4 separate regions of the Homo sapiens genome follow, and regions 2, 3 and 4 are each linked to region 1. The links are contacts of gene promoters, found by promoter capture Hi-C in blood cells and fetal thymus (Javierre and others, 2016). All regions are on one chromosome and are shown on one strand. The core of a region is centred on a gene start or on the middle of the fragment in contact, and the rest is flanking DNA. Distances in the headings are between cores, read along the strand shown. Region 1 holds the start of TGM2 (transglutaminase 2). Region 2 overlaps LOC149684 (a long non-coding RNA gene). Region 3 overlaps RPRD1B (regulation of nuclear pre-mRNA domain containing 1B). Region 4 overlaps RPRD1B (regulation of nuclear pre-mRNA domain containing 1B).

Region 1 (2,806 bases), core at 1-2,500:
GCTCAGGGCTCACAGTGGATCCGGAAGCACAGGAGACCAAGAGACCAGAGATACCAGGATGAGAGATAGGACCCCTGGTTGCCAGGTTCGAGAAGTCCTAGGCTGAGTCCCTGGAAAGTTAGTCTTGCTCCTTTCTGGCACACAGTGGGGCCTCAAGAAAGCTCAGTGGATGGATGGATTGAGGGAGGGAGGGAAGAGAAGGCCGAGGGAGGGATGGATGAAGGGATGAGTGGATGGATAGGTGGGGGGGTAGGTGATGCATGGGTGAGTGGATGGATGGGTAGATGGATGGCTGATTAGATGGATGGCTGATTAGACAGATACAAGGATGGGTGAGATCGGAGGATTATCTGGGTTTTGCTACAGGAAGGGACATGGGTGTGTCTGTTTTTGCAGGTGTGTCTGCATGTCTGTACCTGAGTCCATGCCTGCATGTGTGTCTACCTCTGAGTAGCCACATCTTTGTGTGTCTGTGGGTGCCCTCTCTGATTTTGCGTCCACATCTGACAGTGGCATTGGTGTCTAGGAGGTCTGTGTGTGTGCCAGGTGCCTCTGGACACCTGCTCATCTGTGTCCACAGCTGTGTGTGGCTCGCGGTCAAGGCTACCTGGCTGTGTCAGGCTGTATCTATGTCCTGGTGTGTGTCTGCCATTCGAATCTGAATTTGTATCCATGTCACTGTGTCTGCGTGGCCAGCCGTGTTTGGTGTATCTGTGGGAGTGTATCTGTGTTTGTGTGTGTATCTCCACAGCCCTGTCTTGGTGTGTCTGCGTCTGCTCTCTGTGTATGTATATCTGAGTATGTGTGTGAGTGTGTGCGTGTGTGTGTGTGTGTGTGTGTGTGTGTGTTGGGGGTGGGGAGGTGTTCTTGATCCCAGATCTGACCTAAGAGTCCACATCTGTGTGTCCAGGTGCACCCCGGTTCCGTTGTGTGTTTCTATGAGGGTGCTGCGTGTGTCTGTATCTGAGTGTGTGTGTCCAGGTGTCTGTTCTCCAAGGTCTGAGTCTGTGGGTCCAGGTGTGTCTGTATCCTGGGCTAGTTGTGTGTCCCTGTCCGCTCCCCCAGGGGGCGCCCTCGTCCGGCCGCCGTCCCTCCCTCGGGCTCCGGTCCCCTGGGTGAGCCCCAGCGCTGGCGGCGTGGGCCCGGGACTGGGCAATGGGTGGCCTCCCAGGTCGCCGCCTTCCCGCGGGGCCCCGCCCCCGGCCCGCCCCAAAGCGGGCTATAAGTTAGCGCCGCTCTCCGCCTCGGCAGTGCCAGCCGCCAGTGGTCGCACTTGGAGGGTCTCGCCGCCAGTGGAAGGAGCCACCGCCCCCGCCCGACCATGGCCGAGGGTGAGTATCAGAGTCACCGCAGCCGCCACTCAGGGGCCCCGGGGCATTGGGGGTCAGGACCCGGTGGGAGCTGAATCCCTAAGTCCTGATTTGGAGAGCAACAGGCAGACCGGGCTGGGTGAGGAGGCGTCTCAATGCTGCTTGGAGCCTCAGTTTCCCCATCCACACTGCATAACCATTAACCCTTGCCTCCCTGGATCAGGTGAGGCAATGGAACGCGACGGGGTGTTGTAAACTGTAAAGTACTGTCCTGGCGGACCACTGGCACGTGTCCTCAGTCAGTCAGTGGGGGCTGGCTCTCTGATGTGTGCCTGGAGCTGTGCAGGGGGTGCTGGCCTGGCCTCAGAACACTTAGGTTTGGGTGGTTCTTGCCAGCCAGGACCAGGTGGTGTGCATGCCACGCCGGTGGTGTGCAAGCCAAGCCTGGCTGAGTCCTTGGCTCCAGCGGCCAGAGAGGAGCTTTCGGCATCCTATCCAGGAGCCTTCGGAAATCAGGCTTGTTCTTCCCGCCCTCACGTTCTGCAACCCTAGACCTTGGCCAATTGTTGAGTCTCACCTATAAAATAAGGACAACAGTGTCCTTATTTTATAGGACAAGGTTTATGAGATTTGTTTTCCCCCAAGACCCCCACCCATCTGTCACCCTGACCGTGCCCTGGTCCTCTGCTCCAGCCTTTGGTGCATCTGTGAGGAACGAGAGGAGTGGAACAGAGGCTTAACTAATTTCATACTGGTGCCCCTGACTCCCTCCCCACACACAAGCAGCACTCTCGTAGGTCCCAGCTGGAGGGATTTCTACAATGGAGGATGTCACTGCTGGACCCAGAATCCCAGCTGGCTCTTGGGTCAAGTTCATCTGGGGATGGCTTCTGCACCCATTGCAACCCCCAGGAAGGGGTGTGGGACAGGGACATGGGGCAGGTGGAGCAGGAATGGGTGGCAGGAACTGTGGACCCACCTGACCCTGCTGTGTGATCTCAGCCACCTGCCTCCCTCGGGCCCAGCTCCCAACACACTGTGATGTGTCGCCTCGGTGGCCGCTTGTCCTCAATGCATCTTCTCACCCCCATGCTCAAAAGCAGGGCTCAGTGGGGCTGGGAGATCCTGGAGATGCCAGTTATGATGAGCCTCCAGCCCCATGTCACAGTGGCCACTTCTGACAGAGGTCTCACTGGCCTAGAAGGCCTAGGCCCTTTCTAAGTGCAGAAATCCTATAAATCCTACAATTCTAGACCTGCATCTTTGGAGCTGGGCGTGATTTCTGGAAACCCTTCTTCGGACAACAGATGGAGAAAATGCCCCAGCTCCCACAGCCCAGGGACTGGCCGTATCTCCAGGGTCTTCCATGGGAACAACAATGGCCTCTTTCCTGCTCAAGCTCCCTGGGTCTGAAGTTTCCAAAAACATTTCCTCGCCGCAATAGGCCAGCAGGAAGTTTTTCCTTCTGGCCACTGAGGTCTCTTCTGTTGTGATTA
Region 2 (2,806 bases), core at 220-2,719, 120 kb before region 1:
GCAGGCATCTGCACGGCTTCCTGGTGCTGCCTCCGTGGCCCTCTGTGGCACTGTGTGATGCCTTGTCTTGGAATTGTAAGTAATCAATTCTTTCTTTCTATGTCATCAGTCACCCCCATAAATTAACATCCCTGCTTCAATCATTGAGGCTGGGGGGTTTGATCAGGAAGGAGCATGCAGAGTGTCGGGGGTAACAGCAGTATTCTATTTCTTAAATGGATTGGTGAGTTCAAGGGTATTTATTGTTATTCTTCAGACTGTACATATATGCCTTTGTCTCTATGGCATGTTCCACAATAAAAATGAAAAAAATCCATAATTACTATCATTTCCTACAAAAGTAACACATCATTGTACCAATGTTAATGTCTTAGTTTTGATAAATGTCCTATGGTGATGTAAGATGTTAACATGAGGGGAACCGGAGAAAAGGAATACTGGAATTTTTCATACTGTCTTTGCAACTCTTCTGTAAAGCTAAAATTATTTCAAGATAAAACGCTGCTACAAAGCAATGCAGAAGCTGAAGCATGCAGAGCCTTGGAGGTCACTTTAAAGTGTTTGGGTTTTGTTCTCTGAGCAGTCGGGGGTCCCTGGAGGGTTTTCAAAAGGTGGGCAGGACCCAATGGGTGTGATAACATAAAATGCAACTTCTGAAGAATTTCAAATATTGTCATAGTTGTGGAGGCGGAACTTCCCTGTGGCCAGATGGAGATTGCTTTGACCACAGGCCTGTGCACCCCCGGGGTGAGGCCATGGCCCCTGCTAGGCGGGGACACGTGGAGGGGAGCCAGAGAGAACAGAGCATCCATTGATCAGCAGGACAGCTGTGGGGAGGGACAGATCCACGGGCCGTAGGAGGGACCCTGGGAGAGATGGGAAGGAAACGGAAGGATAGAAGCTGCCGGGGTGGGTCGGGGATTGGGAGGGAGGTCTGAGGGCTGAGAGAGGGCTTGGGAGCCCCCACTCCCTGCAAGCTTCCTGTGTCCCTCAGCCAAACCCTGAGCTTTCTCCCTCCTCAGGGCCCTTGCAGCCTGGCACCTCCTTACTCAGCAGATCTCCTACCCCACACCATGCACACACACCTGCCTCTCCTCCCTCCCTCTCTTCCTCTCCGCACCCAGAAGAGGCCCAACCCTCAACCTGCGGCCTTGCCCTCCTTTTCTGCATTTTTTTTTGTCTTTTCAGCTTACAAGATTTTTCATCATAAAATCAGATAAGACTCCCTCTAGATCCCAGGTTTCCCTCCAGCCACCACTCTGGACTCCCTGCTCAGCCAAAGCTCCTCAAAGCTGCACGTGTCTCCTGGTGACTCTCCACCCTCCATCCACTTCTTCTGCTCCCACCCACTTTCTACCCACAGGCCAACCCTGCCTTTGCCCATTGTGGACCTCCCCCGGGGCTGCTTTCTCCCTCTCCAGCTCCCTGGGCTCCTGAGGCCCTATAGACCCCTTTGCTTATCATCTCCCTCACTCGACGTAAGGCCAATGTTACGAGTTAAATTATGTCCCTCCTCTGAAAATTCCTATGTTGAATTCCCAACCCCCACAATATCACAGAATGTGACCTTATTTGAATAAATAGTCTTTACAAAGGAACCCACATTAAAATGAGGTCATTAGGGTAGGCCCTAATCCAATAGCCTGGTGTCCTTATAAAAAGGGGAAATGTGGGCACTCGTACATATGGCAAAGATGCCACGTGAACATGAAGACGGCCGCCCGCAAGTTAAGAAGCCAGCCTGCAACAGAGCCTCCCCTCACAGCCCTCAACATAACCGACCCCGTTGACACCTTGATTTCAAACTTCTAGCCCCCAGAATGGTGAGACAATACATTTCTCTTGCTTATGTGACTCCATCTGTAGCATTTTGTTATGGCAGCCCTAGGAAAAGAACCCAGCCCATGAGGGTGGCGAAGCTCTGTTCCCTTCACCATTTCCAGTGCCAAGAACAAAGCTTGATGCACAGTAGCAGCTTCGCAAATATCTGTGGGTTGGATATATGAAAAAACGTATTTCCAAACTCAGTGGACACTCCTTTTGATTATCCGATAATTATTTTTAAAACATATATTTATTAGAGGAATAGAAAAATGTGAGATTCAAAAAGTTAGTGAACAGTACATCCTTCCAGAGATGTTCTAGGACAGTATAAGCACAAGATTTTGTATTAGTCCATTCTTGCACTGCTATAAAGGAATACTTGAGACTGCATAATTTATAAAGAAGAGATATTTGGCTCACGATTCCACAGGGTGGACAGGAAGCAGGATGCTGGCATCTGCTTGGCTCCTGGGGAGGCCTCAGGAAACTTACAATCATGGTGGAAGGCGAAGGGGAAGCCAGCACTTCACATGGCTGGAGCAGGAGGAAGAGAAAGAGCAGGGAGGTGCCACACACTTAACCAGATCTTGTGAGAACTCACTCATTATACAGTACCAAGGGGGGATGGTGATAATCATTCATGGAAACTCTGCCCCCATGATCCGATCACCTCCCACCAGGCCCCACCTCCAACCCTGGGGATTACAATTCTACATGAGATTTGGTGGGAACAGAGATCCAAACCATATCAGCTATCGTGTGTTATGTAGTTGGGGGGCCTTTAAAAAGCTTCCACAAATCTTTGTGAATGAAACATACTGCTGAGAACTTCATGTTTACACTTTCTTTGTCTTGGGGATGCCAGCCTCAGATGGTCCCCAGGAATCCCTGCCTTCATGAATATCCCCTCCCACACTGGATAGGGCTGACCGTGCTAGGACATTGTGGAAATAGTGTGTGACTTCTGAGGTTAGGTCATGAG
Region 3 (2,806 bases), core at 82-2,581, 130 kb after region 1:
TTTCCTTTTACTGTTTTGGATGACATCATTCGCTAAATACAGAAAAGTAAGCTTTCTATTTGATTTGGCTGAAAAAAAGAAAAGAAAAGAATTTAACTTACACCAAAGAAATTCTCAATTCACAATTCTTTTGCCCTGGGCTGCTCCTAAAAAAACATTAAGACAAGTATTATCTACCTGGGGGGTCAAGTAGATATGTTTAAAAAGACCACCTAAGGAATAGGTTTGGGAATACCATTTCGGAAAAAAAAAAAAGAAAAAGAAAAAGAATGGGCCATCTTCATTGCTGTGTTGTTTAAACCAGGGTAATTAATTGATAGTAAAAATTAAGATAATCCAAAGAGAATTCCTAAAGGATAAGCAGTCAGTGTTAATGTTGAAACTAGGGCTTTTATTTATTCTACTGCAAAAATGAGCAACTTCTAACTCACTTTTAATTATCAAATATTTCAGAATGAAAGACTGAGTTGGCCGGACGCAGTGGCTCATGCCTGTAATCTCAGCACTCTGGGAGGACGAGGTGGGTGGATCATTTGAGGTCAGGAGTTTGAGACCAGCCTGGCCAACATGGTGAAACCCTACCTCTACTAAAGATACAAAAATTAGCCGGGTGTGATGGTGGGCACCTGTAGTCCCAGCTACTCAGGAGGCTGAGGCAGGAGAATCGCTTGAACCCAGGAGGTGGAGGTTGCAGTGAGCCGAGATTGCACTACTGTACTCCAGCTTGGGCAATAGAGCAAGACTCTGTCTCAAAAAAAAAAAAAAAAGACTGAGTTAGGTTTCAATTTTAAAATGGTTTCGCCGAGCGTGGTGGCTCATGCCTGTCATCCCAGCACTTTTGGAGGCCGAGATGGACGGATCACCTGAGGTCGGGAGTTTGAGACCAGCCTGACCAACGTGGAGAAACCCCGTCTCTACTAAAAATACAAAATTTGCCTGGCGTGGTGGCACATGCCTGTAATCCCAGTTACTCAGGAGGCTGAGGTGGGAGAATCGCTTGAATCCGGGAGGTAGAGGTTGTGGTGAGCCTAGATCATGCTGTTGCACTCCAGCCTGGGCAACAAGAGCAAAACTCCGTCTCAAAAAAAAAAAAAAGGTTTCTTGTAATTTTGCTCCTAAACTGAGAATTTCTCTGATACTCCAATAACCATAATCAATAATATAGAAGAATCTCTAGGTGCACCAATAGATATTAGCTCAAATACAAGTATACATTAACACTACACTCTTATTGAAAATTTACACACGTGTGAAATCTAGATATGCAAAATTAGGGCTTTCACAAAAACCATAATTCTCTCTTATTTATATGAAATGTGGTTATTCCCTATTACTCTATATGGTATCATATATTAAACCATAAAAACCTCGTGCAATATGTCTGAGTTACAGTTGCTTTGGGGAACATTACTGAATTCCCTGGCTTCTATGCACATAATTTCTCAACTATAAAGTTACATCCCTACAATTTTTGGTTCCAATTTTCTTTTAAAAGAAATAAATAAGAACATAATTAGATGTTTCAAAACACAAAGTTTTCTCCAATGCTAAAGTACCTGAAAAACACAAGCTCTTTATCAACCTTAACACACCTGAGTAACTCTATTTCTCTCTGAAACCAGTTGTTTCTTTTGAAATGTACAAAGCATTGATATGTCTGACATAGCAGGCATAAGATCTGACATTTTAAAATGTAGCTACAGGAGGCTGGGCACAGTGGCTCACGCCTGTAATCCCAGCACTCCGGGAGGCCAAGGCAGGTGGATCACCTGAGGTCACGAGATCAAGGCCATCCTGGCTAACATGGTGAAACCTTGTCTCTACTAAAAATACAAAAAATTAGCCAGGCGTGGTGGCGGGCGCCTGTAGTCCCAGCTACTCAGGAGGCTGAGGCAGGACAATGGGGTGAGCCCAGGAGGCGGAGCTTGCAGTGAGCCGAGATCACACCACTGCACTCCAGTCTGGGTGACAGAGCAAGACTCTGTCTCAAAAAAAAAAAAAAAAAAAAAAAACAAAACAAAAAAAATCAGCCGGGCGTGGTGCCAGGCGCCTGTAAACCCAGCTACTTGGGAGGCTGAGGCAGGCGAATCACTTGAACCTGGGAGGCGGAGGTTGCAGTGAGCCGAGATCGCGCCAACTGCACTCCCACCTGGGTGACAGAGTAAGAGACTCCGTCTCAAAAAAAAAAAAAAAAATGTAGCTACAGGAGAGTAACCCAAGTTAAAAACATGATTTTAATAGCACATTACAGTTTAAACTGATGAAACTGATGTCTTAAATGCTCATAAAATTAAATATGGATACCCTGAATTGTCTTAACCTTCTGGTAATAACCTAGTTTAGATGGCCAACTGATAAGAATACTAGGAACCTGGAGCTTTCTTCAACTTTCTAATTATTATTCAAAAGCAGAACAAAAGTGTCAGTAGTTACAATATCTACTGTTGCTACAAAGGTATGATTATGGCAAAACGTGCTTTTTTGTTAAAGCAAACCTTGCTCTGCAAAGTTGATGTAAGTGAAACTACTACACCTATAATCCCATGCAAGTTAGCAGATTCGAAAGCAAAACAGAACTTCAACAAAGCAAATTTCATTAAGTGAAGCTTTAAAATTCCATACACTTTATGTTGAAAAAAAAAAAACCTAGAATCCATATTGTAAAATGTCAGTGTGGACATTCAAGACCTGATATATACTTCTCAGTAGACAAACAAGGTATCTAAGGGGCTTGAGACCCAAGGTTTTCACTGTTTACAATGCCAATTAATTTTCATCACCCCAGAACTTAACAATGGGGATTTAT
Region 4 (2,806 bases), core at 207-2,706, 85 kb after region 1:
AAGGAACATACCTCAAAATAATAAGAGCCATCTATGACAAACCCACAGCAAACATCATACTCAACAGGCAAAAGCTGGAAGCATTTCCCTTGAGAGCCAGAATAAGACAAGGATGCCCACTCTTGCCACCCCCGTTCAACACAGTACTGGAAGTCCTAGCCAGAGCAATCAAGCAAGAGAAAGAAATAAAAGGCATCCAAATAGGAAGAGAGGAAGTCAAACTATCTCTCGTTGCAGGCTATATGATTCCATAGCTAGAAAACCCCATAATGTCTACCCAAAGGCTCCTAGTTCTGATAACTTCAGCAAAGCTTCAGGACACAAAATCAATATACAAAAATCAGTAGCATTTCTATAGACCAATAATGTCCAAGCTGACAGCCCAATCAAGAACACAATTTCATTCACAAAAGCCACAAAAAGAATAAAATACAGCTAATCAGGGAGGTGAAAAATCTCGACAACAAGAATTACAAAACACTGCTCAAAGAAGTCAGAGACAACATAAACAAATGGAAAAACTTCTATGCTCATGGATAGGAAAAATCAATATTGTTGAAATGGCCATACTACCCAAAGCAATGTACAGATTCAATGCTATTCCTATCAAACTACCAAAGACATTCTTCACAGAATTAGGAAAAACTATTTTTGCATGCACAGCATCTACTAACAAAAACAAAACAAAGAGAAAACAATATTCTAAAATTGATTCTGAGCCAATAAAAAGCCCAAATAGCCAAAGCAATCCTAAGCAAAAAGAACAAAGCCCAGGGCATCACATTACCCAACTTCAAACTATACTATAAGGCTACAGTAACTAAAACAGCATGGAAATGGTACAAAAACAGATACAAAGACCAATGGAACAGGGTAGAGAACTCAGAAATAAAGCTGTACACTGGCTGGGCACGGTGGCTCATGCCTATAATCCCAGCACTTTGGGAGGCTGAGGCAGGTGGAGCACCTGAGGTAAGGAGTTCGAGACCAGGCTGGCCAACATGGGGAAACCCTATCTCTACTAAAAATACAAAATAAGCCAGGCGTGGTGACGCATGCCTATAATCCCAGCTACCCGGAAGGCTGAGGCAGGAGAACTGCTCAAATCTGGGAGGCGGAGGTTGCAGCAAGCCGAGATCGTGCCACTGCACTCCAGCCTGGGAGACAAAGAGAGACTCAAGACTCAAAAAAATAAATAAATAAATAAAGCTGTACACCTACAAGAATCTGATCTTTGACAAAGCTGATGATAACAAGCAATGGGGAAAGTATTCTCTATTCAATAAATGGTGCTGGGATAGCTGGCTATCCATATGCAGAAGATTAAAACTGGACCCATTCCTTTTACCATATATAAAAACCAACTCAAAGTGGATCAAGACTTAATGTAAAACCTCCAACTACAAAGACCCTAGGAGAAAACCTAGGAAATACCATGCCGGACACCGGCCCTGGCAAAGACTCCAAAAGTAACTGCAACAAAAACAAACTGAAAAGTAAAATCTAATTAAACTAAAGAGCTTCTACACAGCAAAAGAAACTATCAACAGAGCAAAAAGACAACTTACAGAATGGGAGAAAATATTTGCAAACTATGCCACCATCAAAGGCCTAATATCTACAATCTATGAGGAACTTAAGTCAATAAGCAAGTAACAAAAAACCCCATTAAAAATAGGTAAAGGACACAAACTGACACTTTTCAAAAGAAGACATACATGCAGCCAACAAGCATATTTAAAAAGCTCAGTATCACTAATCATTAGAGAAATGCAAATCAAAACCACAATGAGATACCATCTCATACCAATCAGAATGGCTATTAAAGAGTCAAGAAATAACAGATGCTGGGGAGGTTGTGGGGAAAAAGGAACACTTATAAAGGGCTAGTGAGAATGTAAATTAGTTCAGCTACTGTGGAAAGCAGTCTGGAGATTTCTCAAAGAACTTAAAACAGAACAACCATTCAACCCAGCAATCCCAATACTGGGTATATAACCAAAGGAATATAAATTATTCTACCATAAAGACACATGCATGCCTAAGTTCATCACAGCACTATTCACAATAGCAAAGACATGGAATCAACCTAGATGCCCATCCACAGTAGACTGGATAAAGAAAATGAGTACATATATACCATGGAATACTATGCAGCCATAAAAAAGAATGAGATCACGTCCTCTGCAGCAACATGGATGAGGCAAACCAAATACCGCATGTTCTCACTTATAAGTTGGGAGCTAAACATTGAGAACACATGAACTCAAAGAAGGGAAAAATAAGACACCCGGGACTACTTGAGGGTGGAGGATGGGAGGAGGGTGAGAACTGAAAAACTACCTATCAGGTACAATGCCAATTACCTGGATGACAAAATTATCTGTACGCCAAATACCTGTGACACACAATGTACCCATGTTAACAAACCTGAACCCCCTGAATAAAATAAATAAAAGTTGGAAAGAAAAAAAAAAAAAGAAAATCCAAGTTCCTATCCTACACTTCCATGTGCCTAGGATATAACATGTGACAAACTCACTGGGCTCCTATGTATGAGATGGGAATGAAAACAACGCCTATGGCACGGGGGAAGCTTGGGTGAGAACAGGCACTTGCTAAACTGTTCCATTTGAATCGACAGATCTGATGGAGAAAGAACACTCACCCCTCCCATATTCTATTATTTTATGAGCAATACTTAATCTTCCTGATTTATAATATGTCAAGAAAAGACATGCAGAGTTGAAGAAAAAGAATTATTAATGGGATACAAGATCCTTTCTCCCAGAAACCATTTGATTAT

Evidence for each region. Contacts are between HindIII fragments. The CHiCAGO score rates a contact against its expected background, and 5 or more counts as called.
Region 2: a fragment that was not itself captured here is called in contact with the fragment with the promoter of TGM2 in region 1 in 1 of 17 cell types (monocytes); the score reaches 6.3 in monocytes.
Region 3: a fragment that was not itself captured here is called in contact with the fragment with the promoter of TGM2 in region 1 in 6 of 17 cell types (M1 macrophages, neutrophils, M0 macrophages and 3 more); the score reaches 8.8 in M1 macrophages.
Region 4: a contact is called between a fragment that was not itself captured here and the fragment with the promoter of TGM2 in region 1, in 7 of 17 cell types (monocytes, M0 macrophages, M1 macrophages and 4 more). The highest score is 12.3, in monocytes.

Annotation. Positions count from the first base shown.
Region 1 is chr20:38,163,714-38,166,519 of GRCh38, reverse strand. It overlaps TGM2 (transglutaminase 2), which reads left to right and starts at 1,250. Exons shown (of 13, transcript NM_004613.4): 1 at 1,250-1,331. The coding sequence starts at 1,322. RefSeq lists a silencer at 958-1,397. The HindIII fragment of the contact is 3,789 bases long and covers 1-2,806 here.
Region 2 is chr20:38,285,264-38,288,069 of GRCh38, reverse strand. All of the region lies in intron 1 of LOC149684 (a long non-coding RNA gene), which reads right to left. Among named protein-coding and RNA genes, the nearest start is that of BPI, 17 kb to the left of the region's middle. RefSeq lists an enhancer at 950-1,451. The HindIII fragment of the contact is 980 bases long and covers 980-1,959 here.
Region 3 is chr20:38,037,697-38,040,502 of GRCh38, reverse strand. It overlaps RPRD1B (regulation of nuclear pre-mRNA domain containing 1B), which reads right to left. Exons shown (of 7, transcript NM_021215.4): 2 at 1-68. LOC124904898 (a long non-coding RNA gene) reads right to left here. Exons shown (of 2, transcript XR_007067579.1): 2 at 2,396-2,806. Among named protein-coding and RNA genes, the nearest start is that of RPRD1B, 5.4 kb to the right of the region's middle. The HindIII fragment of the contact is 2,555 bases long and covers 54-2,608 here.
Region 4 is chr20:38,078,922-38,081,727 of GRCh38, reverse strand. The region is part of intron 6 of RPRD1B (regulation of nuclear pre-mRNA domain containing 1B); the gene reads right to left. Among named protein-coding and RNA genes, the nearest start is that of RPRD1B, 47 kb to the right of the region's middle. The HindIII fragment of the contact is 2,285 bases long and covers 314-2,598 here.